Regions from separate parts of the Homo sapiens genome. Here all the other regions are linked to region 3. The links are contacts of gene promoters, found by promoter capture Hi-C in blood cells and fetal thymus (Javierre and others, 2016). All regions are on one chromosome and are shown on one strand. Each heading gives the region's core, a stretch centred on a gene start or on the middle of the fragment in contact. The rest is flanking DNA. Distances are from core to core; before and after follow the strand shown. Region 1 has its middle 3.6 kb from the start of CD164. Region 2 overlaps PPIL6 (peptidylprolyl isomerase like 6). Region 3 holds the start of ARMC2 (armadillo repeat containing 2).

The links. Contacts are between HindIII fragments. The CHiCAGO score rates a contact against its expected background, and 5 or more counts as called.
Region 1: a contact is called between a fragment that was not itself captured here and the fragment with the promoter of ARMC2 in region 3, in 3 of 17 cell types (M1 macrophages, M0 macrophages and M2 macrophages). The highest score is 7.5, in M1 macrophages.
Region 2: a contact is called between a fragment that was not itself captured here and the fragment with the promoter of ARMC2 in region 3, in 3 of 17 cell types (M1 macrophages, M2 macrophages and M0 macrophages). The highest score is 7.1, in M1 macrophages.

Annotation. Positions count from the first base shown.
Region 1 is chr6:109,384,235-109,387,910 of GRCh38, reverse strand. No RefSeq gene overlaps it. Among named protein-coding and RNA genes, the nearest start is that of CD164, 3.6 kb to the right of the region's middle. The HindIII fragment of the contact is 2,035 bases long and covers 1,305-3,339 here.
Region 2 is chr6:109,402,001-109,405,523 of GRCh38, reverse strand. The region is part of intron 6 of PPIL6 (peptidylprolyl isomerase like 6); the gene reads left to right. Among named protein-coding and RNA genes, the nearest start is that of CD164, 21 kb to the right of the region's middle. The HindIII fragment of the contact is 688 bases long and covers 1,743-2,430 here.
Region 3 is chr6:108,847,061-108,850,547 of GRCh38, reverse strand. It overlaps ARMC2 (armadillo repeat containing 2), which reads right to left and starts at 2,126. Exons shown (of 18, transcript NM_032131.6): 1 at 2,002-2,126. RefSeq lists a silencer at 1,769-1,868. The HindIII fragment of the contact is 2,745 bases long and covers 1-2,351 here.

The DNA of each region.
Region 1 (3,676 bases), core at 1,073-3,572, 540 kb before region 3:
CCATGAGGTGTCTTCTGGCTGAAAATCAGCTCTCCAAGACAGGATCGGGAGAAGCACAGTGAATACCTAGGGACAAGGGGAAGCCATAGCTAATCCAAGATATCAGCAAGCCGCCTGAGGTGTAGTTTAGCTTGAACTTGGAGGTTATTCCTAAGGAACAAGTCAGGAAAAGGTTTCATTTCCTGAAGGACCAAGAGACGTAATGCAAAGAGCTCTAGCAGACCCAGGGTTTGAAGCAGAATACAAATAAAAATCATGCATCTCGGGTGCCAGCCTTAAGGGAACCTGGGCTGGGCTCCCTGACTCCTGCACATCCAGGAGGTTTGTGCTGTTTGTATGCTAACCTTACATATGTTTGTAAAGAAAGAAGCAAAAACAGTATATCTTGATGTAATTTTGTAAATGAATCACTGTTAAGAATTGCAGGCCTGGCATGGTGGCTCATGCTTGTAATCCCAGCACTTTGGGAGGCCAAGGGGGGAAGATTGCTTGAGCTCAGGAGTTCTAGACCAGCCTGAGCAACATGGTGAAACTCCGTCTCAAGCAAAAATACAAAAAATTAGCCAGGTGTGGTGGCGCACCCGGCTATTCAGGAAACTGAGGTGGGAGGATCACTTGAGCCTGGGGAGGCGGAGGTTGCAGTGAGCCGAGATTGCGCCAGTTTGACTGAAATAAGCCAGTTTATTTATTCATTTTTTTCTCAAAAAAGAAAAAAAATTGCAGCAGTTCAGGATAGAATAGTTCTGTGCAAGTCATAGTGTAAAGCAGTGTTCTCCAACTTTTTTTTTTTTTTTTTTTTTTTTTTTTTTTTATGAGATGGAGTCTCACTCTGTCGCCCAGGCTGGAGTGCAATGGCACGATCTTGGCTCACTGCAACCCCCACCTCCTGGGTTCAAGCAATTCTCCTGCCTCAGCCTCCCAAGTAGCTGGGATTACAGGCACCCGCCACCACACCTGGCTAATTTTTGTATTTTTGGCAGAGATGGGGTTTCGCCATGTTGGCCAGGCTGGTCTCGAACTCCTGACCTCAGGTGATCTGCCGCCTCAGCCTCCCAAAGTGCTGGAATTACAGGCGTGAGCCACTGCATCCGGCTGTTCTCCAACTTTAATACTTTACACATGTACATATCTTCTGGGAATCTTGTTAAAATGTAGGTTCTGATTCAGGAGATCTGAGGGGGAGGCCTGAGGTTCTGCATTTCTAGGTGATATAAATGATAATGGTTTGAGAACCACACTCTGGAAAGCAAGAGTAAAGCACTGGTTTTCCACCTAAGCTGCAGATTAGAAACACCTGGGAAGCTTTTAAAACTGCTGATGCTCAGACATTACTCCAGACCAATTAAATCAGTACCCAGGCACTAGTATCAATATTTTTCAACACACACCACCACCACTGATGTCACTAGGTAGTTCCAATGTGCAGCCAGGGTTAAGAACAACTGCTCTAAAGTGTAATGCTCCCCTCTGGCGCCCTGGCACACTTTTCAAAGAAACATCCACAGTCAAAGTGGAGAGCCTCCTAATGACAATATCTCCAGAATTTTACCCTTAATCTTAATCACAATATTAAGACTCTGAATATACAGTTTTAGCTAATATTTGATTTATTCCAATCCTTCTCTTTGTCAAAACAGATTCAAATACTACTAAATGAGCTTTAATATATGCTGTTAAAACTGTCTTACAGATGCCAGCCCTTGTTTCCCACCCATACTCCTCTAGATGAATCTACCCTGACCCACAGCTGAAGAGTTCAGGGAGTTATTTGTAGCAGCTGCCCTCCTACGCTTTTATTTTATTTATTTTATTTATTTATTTTTTTTTTTTTTGAGGCAGAGTCTCACTCTGTTGCCCAGGCTGGAGGGCAGTGATGCAATCTCGGCTCACTGCAACCTCTGCCTCCTGGGTTCAATAGATTCTTCTGCCTCAACCTCCCAAGTAGCTGTGATTACAGGTGCTTGCCACTACGCCGGGCTCCTCCTGTGCTTTTTAATGCAGCTAATTTTTGGCAAGGGTGGACAACTGACTGAAATAAGCCAGTTTGTTCATTTATTCATTTTTTTTTAATTAAGTGCAGGGAATAAACTGGTGAGCACTATTTCTGAGTTAATCTAGTGAGAAAGACAACTGCTATATAATGCAGTATATGCTTTGTTATGGGCAAGTCCAGGGTGCACAGAGCAGGAACACCTTTTGTAGTCTGGGAGTGGGGAGAAAGGGGTAGTTGAATATTTTAAGGATAGCTTAAGATGGGAGTGACAGCTTAGCTGAGAGACCTCAAACAAGTAGGAGTTGGTCAGATGCCAGAAGGGAATAAGAATGTTCTAGGCAGAAGAAATAGCATGGATGAAGATCCACATGCAAAAGAAAACATGACCAGTTAGGAGAACTGGAAGTTCAGGGAGCTCTAGTGTAGACTGCATGGATGGAGTCAGAGCAGAGAGTAGGTAACAGACAGGTTGGGAAGGCATGGTACTCAGTCAAGTTATCTCTTCCAAGAGCTATATAACTGGAATACTGGGCAATGGAGATGATTGGCTGTGGGTCTATAGATCTGGCAATGTCCTGTAGGGTTGAAGCCTGAAACGAAGTCCTAGCAAACCAGCTCCACGTGCTAGGGATTCCTCCTTTTAAGTTCAAGTCTCCCTTGGCCCTCACACACTTGATTTCCCACCCCTGAATGCCTATAAGATTTACTGTCATATTCTTACAGTGAATGGATTCCCTTTAACATAAGCTAGTACAAGGGGGTTTGTACTTCTTGCTATCAAGTAGTGGAGGCAAACCTCTGATTATTAAGGGGCCACTGGATGTTAGTTATAGCTAGAAGGCAGGGTCCTGTTTGGAGTGTTGATCTGTTTATTTGGGGAAAGGTACTGACACAAGGCTGAAGCATTGTTTAAAAATCTGCTGTTTAAAAAACTTAGAGGGAGCTTATACTGCTAGAAGATTCACAAGCGCAGAAGCACTCTGTCTTGCTGCTTTCAAGAAAATAAATGGTTAAGAAGGTCGCTCTAACAACCAATCGACAATCTAATTGCAAGCAATGTGTCTAAGAGGAAATAACCTGAGTGATGGCTGACCTTGCACACAGAAGAACGCTCTGAGGGTGCCTTTCAATTGTGATTTTACCCCCAGGAGACATTTAACAATATCGGGAGATATTTTTGGTTGTCACAACTGAGAGGTGGGGTGCTTCTGGTATCTAGTGTGTAGAGGCTACGAATACTGCCGAATATCCAACAATGCACAGGACAAGCAAGAATGAGTCAGCCTGAAATCTTGATAGCGCCAAGATTGAGAAACCCTGCTCTATGACAACAATAAACAGAAGCTTACTGTCAGGAACTGAAAAAAAAAAAGCTGTCTCTCTGAAATGGTGAAAATGACTTTGGAACTCCCTTGATCTACCTCTACAGTTGCCATGCAAAATAAAATAAACCAATGGTTTTCTAGTCTTAAAACAAGAGCGTGAAATGTCCCTTTATCAGGACTGAGGAATATCTGAGGACTAGAGTTAAACATCCAGGTGACAAATTGTTAAACAATGGTCTGCACAGAGGAGTGTGTTTATCCTAGGGTGGAAAGAAGATAACACACCAAGCTCTGAGAACAGAGCTTCTATTTACATTTTTTTTTTTTTTTTTTTTTTTGAGACGAGTCTGGCTCTGTT
Region 2 (3,523 bases), core at 837-3,336, 560 kb before region 3:
GAGCAACATGCTGGACTGTACCATGTGTGCAATCAACAGACTCCAGACTGGGAGAAATTCTCGAGGTTAAACAGCTCAGGTTCATTAGTAATAGATAAATGTAAGGAAAAGAAAGGGATGGAGGTAAGAACCTGCAGATTAAAAGAAGCTTAAAAGCATAACCAATTTTTTTTAAATGGGAAAGACTAAACTATAGTGCTTAGGAATGCATATTTGGATGTTAAAACTATAAGGAAACATTAAGTGCATGGTTATATAAAAGTCGGGGGAATGATTCCTTTTGGGTGAGAGAGGGGCTTGACAAGGAACTTTGGGCAGAAGCCAGCAAAGTTTCTTTTCTTGGCCTGAGTGGTAGTTAAAAGGGTATATGCCTTATGATAACTTTATACATTAGTTTTCTGTGGCTTTTTGTGTCTATATTTGAATAAAATGAAAAGGTTATGAAAAGATATCTTTTTTTTTTTCCTTTTTTGAGACGGAGTCTCTCTGTCACCCATGCTGGAGTGCAATGGCGTGATCTCGGCTCACTGCAACCTCCACCTCCCAGGTTCAAGTGATTCTCCTGCCTCAGCCTCCTGAGCAGCTGGGATTACAGGTGCGTGTCACCATGCTCAGCTAATTTTTTTGTATTTTTAGTAGAGACGGGGTTTCACTGTGGTGGTCAGGCTGGTCTCAAACTCCTGACCCCGTGATCTGCCCACCTCGGCCTCCCAAAGTTACAGACGAGAGCCACTGCACCCGGCCGAAAAGATATCTTTATTGAATCGATGGCCAAAGTGAAAGGGAAAAAGTAATAGCTACTTTCCTTCTGAATTCCTGCAGACAGCTCTATCAAATGAAAACATGCAAGTGACACCATTCCTTTAGTCATTCATAAAATACTAAACTCCAAAGTAGGTGCTCACATGGTGCTAGGGCCTGTGGCAACAAAGATGGTATAACCGAGTTTCTACTCGGAAGGCTTGTAGTAGTTTTGTGCAGACAGATGTTAAAACAGATCAACTACAGGTGCTGTGCCAGTTGCTGTTAGAGAGGAGGGAACTGAGTGCTGTGGGAAAAGAAAGAATAGCTGCCTGGAGAGTTGGGTGCGGCAGCACAGAGAAGCTTTGAGTTGGGTCTGCAGCAACACGTTGCAGATGGAGAAAGGACTCTCCTGGCCCCAATCCCTGATGAGAATCCACTGTACCTCTCCACCCCACAGCCATTATCAGAGCACCCAAATGCTTTGTGCTCGGAGGCACAGCCTCAGATGGAACGTGGGCCTCCTGTCCAGTAGGAGACTGATCTGTTCACTCATCTCCTTGCCTGACCTCCTAGACACCCCTGAGTCTCTGCTGATTATCCCTCACCCCATCCTTAGACTGTTGTAGTATCTGCTCTCCAGATAGAATCTTTGCTGTCCTCACTGTGCCCATGGAGTCCCAGTGCATTCAGTGAAGTTTTTATTATTCGGTTGGTCTGGTAGGACAAAATTAGAAAAAATCCAGGAAGCAATCAAGTGGGAAGAAGAGATGTTCCAGAAGGAAAGATGAGTAACTGTGAAAGCGAGAGCACAGCTAGTCCTCAGAACAGCTAAGGCATGGGTCTTTCTCCCTCATCCCTTCACCTGCCTGGGAATGTGAATGCAGCAGCCAGCCAGTCCTTCCTCCACATTTCTCTCATGGGTTCCTACTTCCATGAGATGCAGAATTAAAACTGGGGCTGTGAAAAACTGCAACCACAAAACTCACTTTTGTTAAGCTTAACACAAAAATAATGCAATAAGTAATGTATCATTTAATTAGATTATCATTTTATAAACGAATTAATTTTTTTTTAACCTAGGGAAAGTCTGTTTTGCTTTGTTTTGAATCACAACTTTTAAAGTCCTAAATAAATAGGCTCTTTCTACTTAGGCAAGTTTCAGCTATTGGTTTCTGTGTAGGTTGTTCCCACACATACTTTATCCCTGGCAGAAGCACTCAGGAGAAAATAGGCTTGAATCAAACCTATTTACTGACCAGTGGCCTCACTCCTCACCAAACAAAGAGGACAGAAATTCCTCTATGGGGGCTTTCACTCTGTTTAAACCTAAAGAGGCTCAGCCCCCTTCAGCAGTGCTGTTTACTGCCAAAGGGTGCATTTTGATATCATGGAAGTATAAAGCAACTTAATGTTTTAAGTGTTAAATGAAATGTACCAAAAATTTACTATTAGAAAAAAAATCAGGGAAATTTATGTTGGTAAATAATTTTTTTAAAAAAAATTAGAGCTAGCCAGGTGTGGTAGCACACACCTGTAGTCCCAGCTACTCAGGAGGTTGAGGCAGGAGGCCTTGAGCCCAGGAGTTCAAGACTAGTCTGAACAACTAGCAAGATGCCTTCTCTAAAAAAATTTAATTTAATTTAAATTTAAATTATAGCTCTTTAATTTTAGAGCTTTATGGAAGCTTGAAAAGAAGTGTAAAGAGGCAGAAGGAAAGCAGAGGGGTTGGAAAGATCGAGAAATACCGAGGTGAGCAGACGATTAAAGAGTGAGTCAGAGAGACACGGCAGAACAAAATAACACGTAAATTACCCTTGTCTTGTAATACTTTATGTCTGCAAAGCTAGTTAGAGTTAATATTTAAAACGGTTCTTTCTTACACATCATTTTATTTGATGCATACAAGATCATGCCAAGTAGGCCAGTTACGGCATGACCACTGAGCGATTTCCGTAGGCCCTGGCATTACTGCCTGGCTGGAAGCAGCATAGCCTCGGGTTCTTAAGATTCACATACACATTCTGGACTTAGAGAATCCACACACAGTCGTTTAGTTTTCACACTTTTTTTCAGGTCCATACATTTTTAAGTTTCTAAGTCAGGGACTACCTGCACCTTTTAAAAATATAATTTATTCTGTCCCTTTATAGCAATGGTTCTCAAATTGTCTCTAAGGATTTCCATGCTGTCCTAAATAAATGTGTTCAGGAGATGAGAGGGCTCTAGGCACTTTTTTTTTTTCTTGAGACCGAGTCTTTCTCTGTCATCCAGGCTGGAGTGCATTGGCGCAATCTCAGTTCACTGCAACCTCCGCCTCCTGGGTTCAAGCGATTCTTGTGCCTAAGCCTCCTAAGTGGCTGGGATTACAGGCATGCACCACCACACCCAGCTAATTTTTGTGTTTTTAGTGGAGACGGGGTTTTGCCATGTTGGCCAGACTGGTCTCGAACTCCTGGCCTCAAGCGACCCACCCACCTTGGCCTCCCAAAGTGCTGGGATTACAGGCATGAGGCACTGTGCCTGGCTGCTCTAGGCACTTTTTGCACTGTTTTATACATGGGTTTTCACATAGGTAGCAGTTTCTTTGATAGGTATTATGATTAACTGCTTTAAAATTATCCCACAATCACAGAATTTTTTATAAAAATGTTACAACTCATCAATTTTCTTTCCCAATTTTTAAAGAATTTAAGAAAAATAAATCAGAATATGTAAAAGCAATGACAAATACCATTCTGTTAAAACTCTCTGAATCTGGGCCGGGCGCGGTGGCTCACGC
Region 3 (3,487 bases), core at 877-3,376:
GCACAGAGTAGGACTCAATGTTGTGACGAATGAGTGAAGTACGGAAAGCCTGAGATACAGGAGTCAAGGTGAAGCAGAGGTTAGAGGAGAGATGAGAACAAGTGAGGTGCACTGAGAACAGAATTAACAGGATTTGGCATCCATGATTCCAGGAAGAGGCCAGAAACAACACTAGGTATGCAAACCTAGGGGAGCCAGAGGGCAAGGGACCTTTTAAAAGAAACAGGAGGAGAAGCTGATTTCAAGAGGAAAGAAGAAAGAGGCTGAGTTCTGTCTTGCATCACACTATCCTGAGTCCATGGTATCCACAGGACCTCTAGAGGGTGAACACCACCAGCAGTAGGAAATTTGAAAGTGAAGAACTTTTTTTTCAACAAGATATTTCCTACTGGTCTGGGTGAAAGCTCAGAGTCATAATTTATAGAAGTTTATAACTAATTATAAAGACCTGTCTTTATCGTTGCTGCTAATAGCCACTGGAACCAGAGCCTTCTTGCTAAATGCAACACTGCACTACCAGGATGTCTGCAACAGGGGAAAAGCAGGCCAGCTTCACAGTCTTCCCTGCAAATCAAATACTCAGGACCCTTCCATAACTCTGAATCATTTTTGTATTAATATGAGCATCCAAAGAGGCAGTGGTTAAGTGCTTAGATGCTGGACTAAGGGTTTAAATGCTGACAATTCACAGCCATGTGACCTTAGGCAATGCCTCTAATATCTCTAAGCATCAGTTTCCTCATCTATAAAAGGTGGATAGTAATAATAATTGCCCCATAGGATTGTTTGAAGAATTAAATGATATAATACATGTAAAGTGCGTTAGCACAGTGCTTTAAAAATGTTAACATTTTAAAATATGGCCCTTAAAGATGTTAACAATTATTGCCCAAGTGCTACATGATAAAAGGATACAGCAAAATCATTTCCACGAATGAAAAACTACATTTAAAAAAAGAAATTGCAAAAGAGAGAATGACGTTTGTTCAGTGTTTCTATACATAAGTTTTTTTTTATTATTATACTTTAAGTTCTAGGGTACATGTGCACAATGTACAGGTTTGATACATAGGTATACATGTGCCATGTTGGTTTGCTGCACCCATCAACTCGTCATTTACATTACGTACTTCTCCTTTTAAAAGGTGGGTGGTGGTACTTGCCTTTATGAAAACAGATAATTTTTATTAAGCATTTTATTGAATATCAGCTATGCCAAATCAACATCAACAACCAGAATCCCATAGATTAAGAAACCAGGATAAATATAATAAATGGTGCTTGCTTTTCAACCAAATTAAAGTATAATTATTATAAATCAGGGTGGGACGTAAGATCTGTTGTGTTACTTGTGGGAATGGATCACAAAAGGCATTATGTATACACTCCATGATTTTAAAGTATGTTAAATATTGTTACACATACGTTTTTATTTATTGAGGCCCTGTTGCCTGGAAGTGCCCAGATATAAACTGTATGACTCTGGCCCGGTCACCGCCTGCCTAGACAAAGCCCCTTAGTCTACCACTCTCATTCAACAAATATTACTGGGCTTCTTATTAAGCACCACGCACTTGGCTAAGTGCGACAGTACATAAATAAAAGACAACCGCTCCGGACCCCTGACAGCATGCACAGGGCACTCATCGTCTCTCTACCCCATCCGAGGACACACAGGCGGACGACGGCAGGAAGGGTCCCTGGGGAGCCGCTGGGGACACCTCACCTCCCGCTCGGACAGCGGCTCCCCCACCCACGGCAGTGCCCGCTCCTCCACGGTCCCGGCCAGGGCAGGGCGCAGCAGCATCCTCACCCCGCCCGGCCACCCTCCCACTTCGCCCCGCAGCCAGCGTCTCCATGGTAACCGTACACAAACTACCTCCCGCCGCCGCCCCGGCAGCCAGACCGCAGGGCCAGGCCGCTGCAGGGCGGGAGAGGCGGGCCGGGGAATGAGCTTGGCGAGGGCTCAGGGAAGGAGGCTTCCGACCTGACCCAAAGCACCTGTGATGAGCACTGGAGATAGCAGCGGCTGCGAGGTTCAATTCATCCTCCGGCTCTCCCCGGGTAGCGGCCAGGGATGCAGCGCTGGCGCGGGCGGGGTAACCCCACGACGCCGCTCGGCCACTGGGCCTGCGCGGGTCCCGCCAACGCATGCGTAGAAGCTCCGAGGCGTGGCGACGGCCGGAGCGGGTGGGAGGAGCCTGGAGAGGGCTGTAGGCCGGGAGGTCAGATCAGAGCAGGCGTCGTGGGCGGGTGTCCGCTTTTCGTTTAGCAATTTGCCGAACCACATTTGTTGCTCCCCTGCCGGATCCCAGCACCTCTGTTAAATAACAGCAGGCAGGACGGAAGCTTAATGCTTGTGGGTAAGAAGGATTTACTGGCTCAGGTTAGGGCTCTGTATAACCTGGAGCCACTTGCTGAGCTTCTGTTTCCTCCGATGTCAAGTGGCAGGAAATATTAATAATAGTACCTAGGTAGGTCTTGGGCTGTTATGAAGACTGCATGAGAAAATAGATGTAAAGCGCTATGCACGTGGCAATCAACGAATATTAAACTGTTGGCTGTTATTAAGCCCTTGCATTTGTACAGCCCTTCAGTTCGCAGAGTGTATGCACGTAATCGTACCTTCTGAGTCTGAGGTAGGCAGCCTGGCGTCCCCATCCACAGGAGAGGAACTGGGGGCCTGAGGTGTAGTGAGCAGGAGAAGGAGATTCCAGTCTAGGTCTCCCGTGGCCAATCGTTTTTTGTTCGTGCATCATCACAGTTGAACGGCAAAAAGCACTCCATTTATGTGTTTCTAGTTTAAATTCCCTTTTCTCCTGTTAGACCATTTAGCAACACTGTACAGTGTTAAATAAAAGTGAGATCATAAGCACTCTCCATTCAGGTTTGCACCACGTTTTATAAATATGGAGATTTTCCAGCTGAAGTGCTATTTGTCATCAACACTGGGAAAATGCCACTTCCCTTGGTGCTAAGCATCTTGTAAAGAATAATTAAATTGAAAATATTTTTGAGCACATACTATGTGTAAGGCATCGTGCCAGGTGGGAAATTATACTAACCTGAACTAAAGGAATGTAAATATTCTTCAAAATACTCAAGAGGATTTCAAACATAACAGAAAATAAATACCTATTCGTTGATTGGATAATTTTAGGACCCGAAACAGCCCTGGATTTTTCTGCTCATTCTTAGATAACTGACAGTCTTGTTGTAACTAAATCTCAACCACAGCTTCATTTCAAAACTATAATGTTGGGTGCAAGATATAAACAAATGCATCAAACTTCAAAAAGTCTTCCTCCCCCATTCCAGCCCCAGGCTTAAGGTCTCTAGCTGGCCTTCCCTGAAGGGGTGCACTAGGCTTAGGCTTGTCCCCGACCCCCACCCGCCCCTCTATTCACTAGAGGTTGTTTAAGGCCCAGCTTGGATCAAACTGGCAGTGAGGAGGAGGAGGAGAAGGAAGGAGATGGAGCATTTCTTC